Regions from separate parts of the Homo sapiens genome. Here region 2 is linked to region 1. Evidence: promoter capture Hi-C in 16 types of primary human blood cells and fetal thymus (Javierre and others, 2016). All regions are on one chromosome and are shown on one strand. The core of a region is centred on a gene start or on the middle of the fragment in contact, and the rest is flanking DNA. Distances in the headings are between cores, read along the strand shown.

What was found. The method cuts DNA at HindIII sites, captures the fragments that hold promoters and counts their contacts. A CHiCAGO score of 5 or more calls a contact.
Region 2: a contact is called between a fragment that was not itself captured here and the fragment with the promoter of CLNK in region 1, in 1 of 17 cell types (M1 macrophages). The highest score is 5.3, in M1 macrophages.

Annotation. Positions count from the first base shown.
Region 1 is chr4:10,681,846-10,687,704 of GRCh38, reverse strand. It overlaps CLNK (cytokine dependent hematopoietic cell linker), which reads left to right and starts at 2,937. Exons shown (of 19, transcript NM_052964.4): 1 at 2,937-3,037. The HindIII fragment of the contact is 1,243 bases long and covers 2,771-4,013 here.
Region 2 is chr4:11,725,896-11,731,754 of GRCh38, reverse strand. All of the region lies in intron 2 of LOC107986178 (a long non-coding RNA gene), which reads right to left. Among named protein-coding and RNA genes, the nearest start is that of LINC02360, 41 kb to the left of the region's middle. The HindIII fragment of the contact is 1,463 bases long and covers 2,315-3,777 here.

The DNA of each region.
Region 1 (5,859 bases), core at 1,688-4,187:
GCTTCTGTGTCACGCTCTTCCTTGCTCCCTCTCCATGCTAGCCACCTTTCGCTGTATAGGCTCCTCTAGTGAGCTATGCTGTTTTTCCCACCCAGGCATCCAGATTGACAATATCTTTGGCCTTGAATGTGATCCCGGACACCTCCTTTACTCCTTCCCTTCTCCCCTCCCTCCTCTTCCCTTTCCTGCTTCTTTCTTTCTTAGAAGCCTTCTTTTGTTTCTTCCTTCCTTCCTTCTCTCCTCTTCCCTCCTCTTTTTTCTCCATTTCTGCTCCAGCAAATTTCTACCTATTGTCAACACCTCAGATCTCTTGTCACTTCCCCAGAGGAAATCTGGTCTGAATTCACAGAGTAGAACACATTCGCCTCCTATTTGTTTCAGAGCCCTCTTTGTTCCTGTCTCTGAATACATCATCTTGATGGTTGATTTCTTGTTCAATACCTCTCTATTATATTAGATTCGAAACTCCATGAAGGTAGGGACAAGTTTTTTTTTTTTTTCACCTCTATATCCCCACAGCTTGCCCAGTGGCTGATAGTAGTAGGTAGAGGATGTAAATATCTATTTGTTAAATCAATACATGTCTGATCAGGCACTATTCATTGCATTTACCACAAATTGTAGTTTTATATATATCTGAAGTCCATTCATTTATTTTCACCTCTTCTAGGCTGTAAGCTCCATCAAAGGAGTAGGTATATCTCTTATCTAATTGTATTTTTCAGCACCTAATAGAGCTGCTGATGCATGGTATATATTCAATAGATAATAAATTAATGAATGATATTCCAAGAAAAAAAGCTTTAAATATCACCTACACTATTATCAGCTTTCTCATTAAACCAAATTGTCTTCAATTCTTCATGAGTAAAAAGCAGAAATATTCATATCATTAGACTTGGGTTCTTATTGCAGTCTAGCCACCAATTGGATGTGAACATGCATTTTTAGATTATTTGCCAATGAAGACCACAATAATTCACTTTTCTTCATTCACCCCTTGAATAGTCTTCTCCCACATTTACTCTGAACTTGGCCATGTGACTTGCTTTGGCCAATGGGACCATGGCATCTAGGATGCAAGCAGAGGCCTGGAAAAGGCTGGAGGCTGGAGTTTCCCCTCTCCCACTGCCCTTAGTGCCCCAAACCCACCGTGTACATGGGCCTAGCTGGCCACTAGATAACAGGAAGCTATGCAGAGGAGAACAGAGGCACCTGGCTGACATGATTGCCAACAAACAGATTCATGAGTGTGATAATCTTAGATCATCCAACTGCCTCTCAACCCACTAGCACAGACCAGATGATCAGGTCTTGTTATGGGTCGAATACGTCCCAGCTAAAATTCATTTGTTAAAGTCCTAACCCCCCACTACCTTGGAATGCCTTCTGACATGGAGACTGGGTCTTTAAAGAGGTAATCAAGTTAAAATTGGGTAATTAGGGTGAGCCATCATTCACTGTGACTCCTCTCCTGATAAGAAGGGGAAATTTGGACAAAGACACAGGGAGAATGCCATGTAAACACAAAAACAAGGATACAAAGACACCCACAAGCCGGGGATAAAGGCCTGGAACAGATCTTCTCCTCATGGCTCTCAGGAGGATCCAACCTTGCCGACTCCTTGATCTCAGACTTCCAGAGGCCAGACTGTGAGACAATACAATTTGACCTTCTGTTTTGTTAGCCACTCAGGGCTCAGTCCTTTGTTATGAAAACCCCAGAAAATTAATATGGGTCCAGACCAAAAGAAGTGAGCAAGTGACACACACAATTATGAACTAAATAAAGTGGTTACTGCTTTAAGCCCCTAATGCAGCAAAAGCTAATTAATAAAGTGGTTAAACTACTCGAGTCTCCCTAGTCTTCAGTTTTCACAATTACAAAATGGGATTTTACATATGTTCCTTACATGGTTATTAGTAAGATTAAGGAGGATAATGCTTGCAAGTTGCTTAGCAATGTAACTGACTCACAATTAGCATTCAAAGAGTGCTTATTTTCATGTTTTCCTTGGGGTGTCTGTTAAGTCAAAACCAGAGTTATTTACCCAAGAAAATATAAACTTCTACCTTTGAATTTATTGTAAATAATGTTGGAGTTTGTTATGGAATTCAACATCAATTTATATAAAACTAGAATGTCAAGTCTCCAGAAGAGGAAACAGGCACTCGGCAAGATCAGCTTAAATGGACCAAGATTAAGGCCGAAAGAAAATGTATTAAGCAACTGATATGTGCCCAAACATTACTGCATGCCTTTATTTACAATATTTTGTTTATTTATTGAAATACTTCTAAAATATAAATATTATCCTTCCATCACAATTGAGGAAATATCATTTCCTCAATGAAGGAAATATAATCCTCAATTATCCCTCATTTTTTAAAAAAGTTTCTAAAATACAAATATTATTATCACTCAAACTACTTGAGAAATAAACTTCAAAGTGCCCAAGATCCTATAGCTAATAATTAATACAGCAAGAATAAGAGGCAGGCATTTCTCCTTTAGTTCCCAGGTTCTTTCCTTAACACCTGGTCCATGTGTCTGGGATGGTCTCAGGAAGCCATTGCAAAATTAAGCCAAAAGATGATAGTTAATGTCCACTATTCATATAAAGTGAGACTCGCAAAACCCACCTTCCATGCTTGAGTGTTGCCCAGCAGTTCCTTTTATTGTGTTCTGGTAACTATGAAGTGCCACATAAGGACACCGTGTGTCTTTAAAAACACCCTTTGCATTGGAAGATTTCAGCCTCTGAAAGCTTCACGTATTGCACTCCAGCCTAAGAAGAGGAAGTCCTGCCAGCCCTCAGGTCAGACCTCTCAGGTCTGTGGCTGCATTTCACAGGAAACCAAGTCTAAAACGGACCTATCAGGAGGTTTTCTGCTGAAGGGCACTGCTTAGCATCGAGAAGAATTCAACCCACCGCCTTACTAATTTCCAGTGCCCCAAGGTCTCTGCACTGCCGCCCCTCCTCACAGGAGACGGACACCTCAGCCTAGATCCCTTGGTGCTCTCCACGCTGTTCAGGTAAACTCATTAGGCCAGTTCTTCTGAGTGAGGATCTCATGGTCATCTCCTTGTCATAAATGATCATCAGGAAAGACCTGAGCAGCAAGTAAAAATGTGTTTCTAAAGTGGAAGTCTGGGCCTTATATATAGCATCAAAGGAGCAAGAAGAAAGCCCTTAACTCAATTGTTAAAGATCCTTTCATTCTTTTGGGAGAAAGAATCAGGATACCTACCCACAGAAAATTAAAAGACTAAATGTTTTCAATCTTCTTTTCCTGGAGCTTGGACTCCCCGACTGTTTGCAACTGAAATCTAAAGACCAGGCCCCATGGCTGGCTTTCCTGGCTGACCTTCATTAAGTAAGCCCTCTAGAAAGAAAGCCTCCATTCAAAGTAGGTCATTCAAAGTATAAGTTAACTCCTGGAGCCCTGTGGAAATATATTTTTAACATTTTCTAAAGTAATACGATTTTCTTTCTGCTTTGGTGTAGAGGAGACTTAGACTTTGGAATCACGCAGACATCCTTCCACTCACAAGAGTAAGGAGCTCAAAAGTGAGGTTAAAGTTGGGGTTAAATTCTTACTCTTGAAAAGTGCCGGGAGTCATCTCTACCAGGCTTTTATTGGATAAAGCAAACAAACTGGAATGAGACAGAAAAGAAAATAACTATCATCAAAATATGGATACTTTGATTTTAAAAGGTGTCGATATGCCTGAACTTTTTATCAATACTGTTTTTATTACTTTACACCAGTGTTACTCATTTGGCTTCTCTGTTATGAGTATTACTTGTCTATTACCTACATGGCTATTTCTCTGGCTGTCTCTGTCTATACTGTGGCGCAGCTCCTCAATAGTGTTGTTCTTTGGATTTCCAGGGGCCTCCCAAACCACCAGGAATAATCATTTCAAATATCAAGAAGACGATGGTAGAGCTGGTTAATTGAAGGCCTACCAGAGAAATGACAGCGCTTCAGAAATCCTCTAAGAAGCTTAAGATACAGTATGCCCTAGAGAAGTAGGAATGGCAACTGGCATTTACTTACCTTCAGCTCCTGCTGACCTAGAGAGCTGGCTATTACTTTCCCTGGTTTACAGGTGAAGAACTTGAGTTCTCTAAGTAATATGTGCAAGGTTGTTCAGTCACTAATGTCAGTAACAGAATTCAGAAGGAAACTGATTTTCCTGGCTGACTGATTGGAATGGTGAACAGTGTTAGTTTGCAGTTTCACAGAGCTCATCCCTAAACTCACTCCTGGGTGGTCTCTGACACCAACCATCTAAATGGTAGTATTTCTTTGTTATTCCCAACAAGCCCTCTCAGATGACTGTATAGGCAAGACCATTTGAAAGCCAGTGCTTATAATCTTCTGTACCATCTGGCCAGCTCTGGCCTGAACACCAGGGGATTCTGTTTCTCGATCACTTTGCCATGAGTCAGGTGCTGTCTTAGAAAGACTGTAGGATTTGACGCCTGATCAAAATGGTGAGGATCCTGACTCTGCCACTTGGACCAGGGATGTTGTTTCATATATGATCCTCATTTCCTCCCCCTTTTTAATAAAGTAAGATCTCATAAGACTTGTATTGACAATTATTTAGCCTCAATAATATAATATTTATATTACGTGAAATATGGTGCATTCTTAACACTTAGCAAGTATTCAGTAAGTGTTGACTTCTTTCTCCATTACTTTCCTTTCCTCACTCCAAATCAGTTCTGATTTTATTCTTAAAACATGACCACAATCAACATAGAATTGATTAATACACATAAGTTTACAAATATTGTATTTTAATAATCTCATTAGAGAATGGTAATATTCCACAGTTGTATAGCCCTATGTAATGTAGGCCTTTGAATACATATTTTCTTCTTGAATGATCTTAACAGCTTAATGAAGTAGGCAGAGCACGTATTAGAGCATTTAAAAGGTGAAACTGGGGCTTAGAAAAGATGAGGAAGGACAACATGGTGAAATGGAAAGAAACAGGGCTTTGAGATTGTCAAAAATGGACATGAATCTAGTGTGTGACTTTACTGTTCGTCTTTAGGTAAGTAGCTTAACCTCTCTGATCTTTAGTTAGCTGTTGTTGGAGTTGTGTAATTTGAAACTGGGAGGAAGAATACATTTTGTGTGTTGCTTCGAGAGTGAGAGCAAATGTGCACACAGTGTCTGACACAGAAGAGATAGCCAGGAACTGGCTAAATTTTCACATGAAGAGTAGCAGACAGAGATCTAGAAGCATCCTTTTCTGAATCCTAGTACATGGAGCAGTTATATCCACTGTCATAAGCTACTGCCAACATCTGCCAAGACTTGAGTTCTGCAGAGTTCTTCTAGGCTGTACCTACCCTCCTAGCATGACAAAGAAACATAAAGTGTTCAAAGCGGCTAAATTACTAACCAGAGAGATAAATACCTGAATTTAAATTCTATTTATGATTTTTAACAGATTAAACCAAACATTCACGATTTTACCAATAAAACTGAGAAGCATCAGGTTAGATATCAGCAATAACGAAAAAATCACACACACACACACACACATACACACACACAAACAGAATTGTGGAATAGAGCTATCATAGGACCAATTTTTGTGTTTATTATTTATTTTTTGTTACTCTTATGGGCAGAATATTTGGGAATCATTATTGTGATTATTCTGCTTAATTTTAATCATGTCTTCCAAAGAGCAATGACTTACAGGTTACCATTTAAGTGTTGCTGATAGACAAGAAACGCTCATCATTTCTCACTTTTTAAGTAGGTGTACTTAATTCTTACTTTACAAAACGGATTCTGAAGTTCAGGCAGGCTCCATGCATTGTCCAT
Region 2 (5,859 bases), core at 1,797-4,296, 1.0 Mb before region 1:
GGTTGATATGTAAACTTGGCTGAATCTCTTAAGAAAATAGCTGAGTATTGTAAACTTGTATATTCAAATACTGAGAAAAGTACATATTTTACTTCTACATGTAGAACCAAGGGAACCTTTTAAACAGGTTCACCAGATATGTGTCCACTATCATGCACAAAATCTTTGAAACTAACAAAAACCTATAAACAACCTAATGCCAATAGAGAGGATATGAGATGAATAAACTGTTGTATATTTACTATTATGGCCCTAAAAATAAATGTGGTATAATAATAATGAACAGTATAGATGAATTACAAAAATATATTCAAATTTTAAAAATACTTTGAAAAATATTATGTATGCTGTAAATCCTTTTTAAAAATAAAGTTGAACACAACTATTAACAAACAAGTGCTTGCTTGAAATGCCACACACAAATAGGAAAACAAGGAAATGATGCACAGAGAATTTTGGATGGTGGTTACTTGAGATGGGGTTACATAAGAAAAATAAATGCAAGAGGACCCTATACAGTTATTGTTAATGTTCTTCCTTAACTGTGGATTCATGGATGTTTATGACATTATTTCAAATTAATTGTAATCACTTTTTGAAAATTTGAAAAAGTGTAATCCATGGACCAATGATACATTGCATGGCCAAGGATTATAAATAATACAATTGCACTTTAGATCCATTAACAAAAGAAGAAGACCTGATTGAATCCGAGTACCTAGGCTTAGAGTTAAAACAAAATATTGATCTCGAGGAGAAATTCTCTACCCCTTGAAAATTTTCTTCAAGTAGGTCAAGTCCAGGTGTAAGAAGGAGACAGTCAAATGGAGCACAAGATAGGCCCAAGGATTTGGGATGCTCAAGTTGTGGGTCAGAGGCTGATGATACAAACAGGAATCGGGAAGACACAAAGTAATATGGAGCAGGGCTGGACAGCAGTATAGCTCTAGAAGACTGACAGTCACCAGCACACCCATGGGAAAGGAGAGGTCAGAGAGGGCCAATGGACCTGCTGGGTAAACAATCAGGATTTGAAGATTCAAAACAAATAAAGAAGATGATTGTAAATACTGAACTAGAGTTCACAGAGAAGCTGTGCAGTGCACTGGAATAAATACTACATTCTGGCTTCAACTCTGTTCCTGACTACTCTTAGGCTGTTATGCAAATCATTTTCTCTGTATAAGCCCCAGTTTCTTCCTAGGATAACTTCCTCCATTACAGAGGCTTTTGTGAAGCTCAAGTGAAAAAATGTATGTGGACATGCTTTGGAAATTACAAAATGCCTAATAAAGGTGAGAAGTTGGTATTATTTTGCTCACCGAAGACATTGGAAATAAAGTGATCGTGAAAAAATGTCAAGATGCCCCTGATATTTTTAAGTACTCATTCACCTGTCTGCCTCCACTAATGGGTTATATGCTCTTAGATTATCGAGATGTCAATGTGTTCTCTGTATACTCCTTGTAACTATCTCATTAGCTGATTCCTTGTGGTCTACTAAGTATTAAAGCAATCAATAAAATAATTGCAAACAACCTTAGTGCTGGCCTCTATGTAATCCAATTTCCCAATGACAGTGGTTTTATAGCTAGATCCCTTCCCCCCACCCTCCTTATAGTTGGGACTCCAGCCTTTCTGAGAGAAAAATCTAATGATACAATTCAGTTTAAAAATTCTCTTAAGCTCACTAAAGTCTAGAAGAACGAAAGCATGATATTCAACACTGTTCAACATATTCTGTCTTCTCCCTACCTTTCCCATCTTGTCTTCCACAAAGGCACACAGAGCCACCAAATTCTAGAAATGCTCCATGCTCTTTTTAAGTCTTAAAAGCTTCACTGCTATTCCTTGCACCTGGGATTTTCTTGCCATTTCTGACTCTACCTCTACCAAGTAAACTACAGTTTACTCAAACAGTCAAAGTTCACTCTACCTCTACCAAGTAAACTGCAGTTTACTCAAACAGTCAAAGTTCACACATCTATTTTCCTCACTAGCCCAAGACACAGTTTCACAATCTTGTCTCTGCTGGAAACCACCACATCTCATGGAATGATGGGTGTGTGAGTGTTCTCGTGGCTAAAATTACTTGTGTTTATTTCTTATGACCAGCACCTACTGGCAGTGCTTAGAAAGAGAAAACATGCTCAATATATGTTTAATGCAAAGATAGAAGAAAGAATATTACTTTTTCCAGTTGTAGTACAGGAGATATTCCTGGGAGGACATCTGGGAAAGCATTTCCTATGGGTCTTTACACAATGATCCCCATGGAGTAGAAGGAAAAAAACATATAATAATATTTCAAGCTTCTCAATTTTGCCCAGCCTTCAAGAGCTTATTTCCTATGGAACATTGACTGTATGGAGTTAAATTAGATTTTATCAAATAGTAATTTGTCACATATGTAATACATGAAGGTGTGTGATTGATGTGGAATCTTGAAAAATCATTCTAATATGTCAGAAGGACAAATGGATTAATGAGAGGTATAATTTATGGTCGTAGATGCGGCTCTGTATTAAGTTGGCAAAATCAAAGCCTCACTTAAAGGTAATCTACCTCACTCCATTCTTAACTAAAGTGTCATTGCCAGTAAGACCAGCATAGTGGAAACAGCTCAATTGTGTTGAATTCAAGCTACTTAATCGGCTTCCTTTGACTGATTCTTCAGAGCATTTGTTACTATACTTGATAAATATGTGACCCTGGATGTTTTATCACTTTAATTTTTATATCACTAGAAATAAAGTGTATTTTAATTTTTAATATTTAGGGCCAGGCTCACGTGTGTAATCCCAGCACTTTGGGAGGCCAAGGCAGGTGGATCACCTAAGGTCAGAAATTTGAGACCAGCCTGGCTAACATGGTGAAATCCTGTCTCTACCAAAAAGTACAAAAATTAGCTAGGTGTGGTGGTGCATTCTTATAGTCCCAGCCACTAGGGAACTTGATGTGGGAGAATTGCTTGAACCCAGGAGGAGGAGGCTGCAGTGAGCCTAGATCGCACTACTGTACTTCAGCCTGGGCGACAGTGTGAGACACTGTCTCAAATAATAGTAATAAATAATAATAATAATGTTTAGTTTTAATATAACTAGAAATGAAACTTCCCTTAGAACATAAATGTATCTTTTCGCTGCCTTTTTTTTCCATTTTAAGTCTATAAGTTACTGCCATGAACTAAATTGTGTCTCTCCTAAATTCATATGTTGAACCTCTAGCTCTCTGTGTGACTTTTTTGAAGATAAAGTTTTTTTCTTTTTCTTTTTTGATTTTTGTAGGTACAGTCTTTAAGAAGGTGAGGTAAAATGAGGTCATAAAAGTAGGTCCCTAACTGAGTAGAACTGGTGTTCTTAGAAGAAGAGGAAGAGATACTAGAGCTCTCTCTCTCCCTAGTGTGCACACAGCAAAGGTCAGACAGAGTGGCCTCATCAGACACCAACTCTGAAGGCACCTTGTTCTTGAACTTCTGACTTCCAGAACCGTGAGAAAATAAATTTCTGTTGTTTAACCCACTCAGTCTATGGTATTCTCTTATGACAGAGTAAGTACACCAATATAGTTACATAGAGTGGAATACACAGAATTTAAATTTACATTGCAATATGTTTTAACATATGCATATACTCATATAACCTCTCCCCAGTCAGAAGAGAACATTTGCAACATCTCGGAAAGCCTGGACTCTCTGCCACATCCCAAGGCAGTCTGGCTTCAAACTCCCACCCAGGGGCAACTGCTACTCTGATTTCTATCTCCATAAATTAAGCTTTGCCTATAATAGAATTTCAAATAAATGAAATCTTACAATACGTACTGTTTTGGTCAGAATGTATTAGCTCAACATCACGTTTTTAAGATTCACCCATGTCATTTCATTCATACAAATATTGATATTCCTGAATGGTATTTCATTTTATAAATATATCATCCTTTATTTATTCATTGTCTTGTTAATAGATATTTGAATTATTTTTAGTTTTATTTTTATATTATGAATAAAGCTGCTCTGAACATTCTCATAAAAGTCTTATTGTGGTATTTGTTTTGGTTTCTCTTGTTTAAATAACTAGTAGTGGAATAGTTTGATCACTGAATATTTACCTTTGTAAGAAACTACCAGAGTACTGCAAAATGCTTATAATGTTTTACATTCTCAAAAAAAAAAACAAAACAGTTTTTATAGCTCCACATTCTCATCAGCATTTTGGTGTAGTGGCTTTAGCTATTCCTGTGGATTTGTATGATATCATAATTTGATTTGAATTTGTATTTCCCTTTTGACTAATAATGCTGAGCACATTAAAAAATGTAATGTGCTTATTGGCTTTAGGTATCATTCCCCTTTTTTTAAATTGCAGGAGTTCTTTTTTTCTGGAAAAAGTCCTTTCTCAGATATCTGTGCTAATGATACATTTTAATTTTATAAAGATTCATTTGATGAACTGTGGAATTTAATTTTTATAAAGTTCAATTCATCACTTTTTAATGTTTTATGGAACTGTGATTTCAAAAAAGTCTTTTTCTACTTTGTCTCGATCACAAAGATGTCTTTCCTGTTTTCCTCTAGAAACCATAATTTTAACCTTAAAATTAATGCATCAGATCCATTCAAATTTACTCTTGCACCTAGGATGAACCAACGGTTGAGAATAGTTTTTCCCTAGGGCTATCAATTTGATTCTACATAACTTATTTAAAATGTTAATTTTCTTCATTGAATTGGTTTGTTGCCTTTTGTTGAGAATTAACTTGATAATTATAGGTATATTTGTAGAAACTATAATCTGTTACGTTAATCTATTATTTGTTTATCTTTATGCAAAATTCGCACTCCCTTGATCACTGAAGCTTTATATTAAATTCAATTTTTTTCCTTTTTAAAACAGTTTTGGCAATTATAACTTTTGAAATTAATACATGACTTTTACAATGAACATATGACTTTCAAATCACTGTGGCAAAACTCTACTGTAATTTTATGAGTGTTGTACAAAATCTATTTATCATTCTGAAAAGAACCAACCCAGGAACAATATTCAATCTTCAAAACTGTGAATATGGTATATTTCTGCATTTATTTGAGTTTTTAAATTTATTTCAGCAATGCTTTATACTTTTTATTAAGTTCTTATAAATCTATCCCTTAGCTTATTCCTAACCTTTATCATCTTTATGTTATTGCAAAAACTACACATACTATTTGTTTGCTTGTTTGTTTTCTTATTGTACTGGACAGGTGCTCCAACACAATGGGGAAAGCAATATCCCTCTTAATGGATGGATATTATTTTCCTGTTTTTTATTTTGGTTTCACTATTAAATAAGATCTTAGCTGAAGATTATTTATACATGTCTTTATCAGGCTGAGGAAGTCCTCATTTATTCTAAGTTTGCTGAGAATTTGTATTAAATAATATTTCTGCATTTATTGAAATGACTAAATACATTATTTTCTTAATCTGTTAATATGGTAATGTATATTGATTCACTTTGCAATGTTAAACCAACCTTGCATGCCTTGAATAAATGTGACTTGATTACAGTCTATTATCAGATATGATTTGTTAATATTTATTTTGTTAAGAATTTTTGCATCTGCTCCTGAGAGAGATCCGTCTCGAGATTTCCTTCATTGTAATACCTGTCTGGTTTTGCTGTCACAGTAATGATAGTACAAAAAATGAATTGGAAAGTGCTTCCTTCTCTATCTTCTTAAAAACAGATATGCAGTACTTTAAATATTTGCCTGAATATATCAAGGAAGCTATGTATGCCTAGAGTTTCCTTGACTAAAATATATTTAACTAGAAACTAGCTTTCTTTAATAGGCACACAGCTTTTTCTATTTTG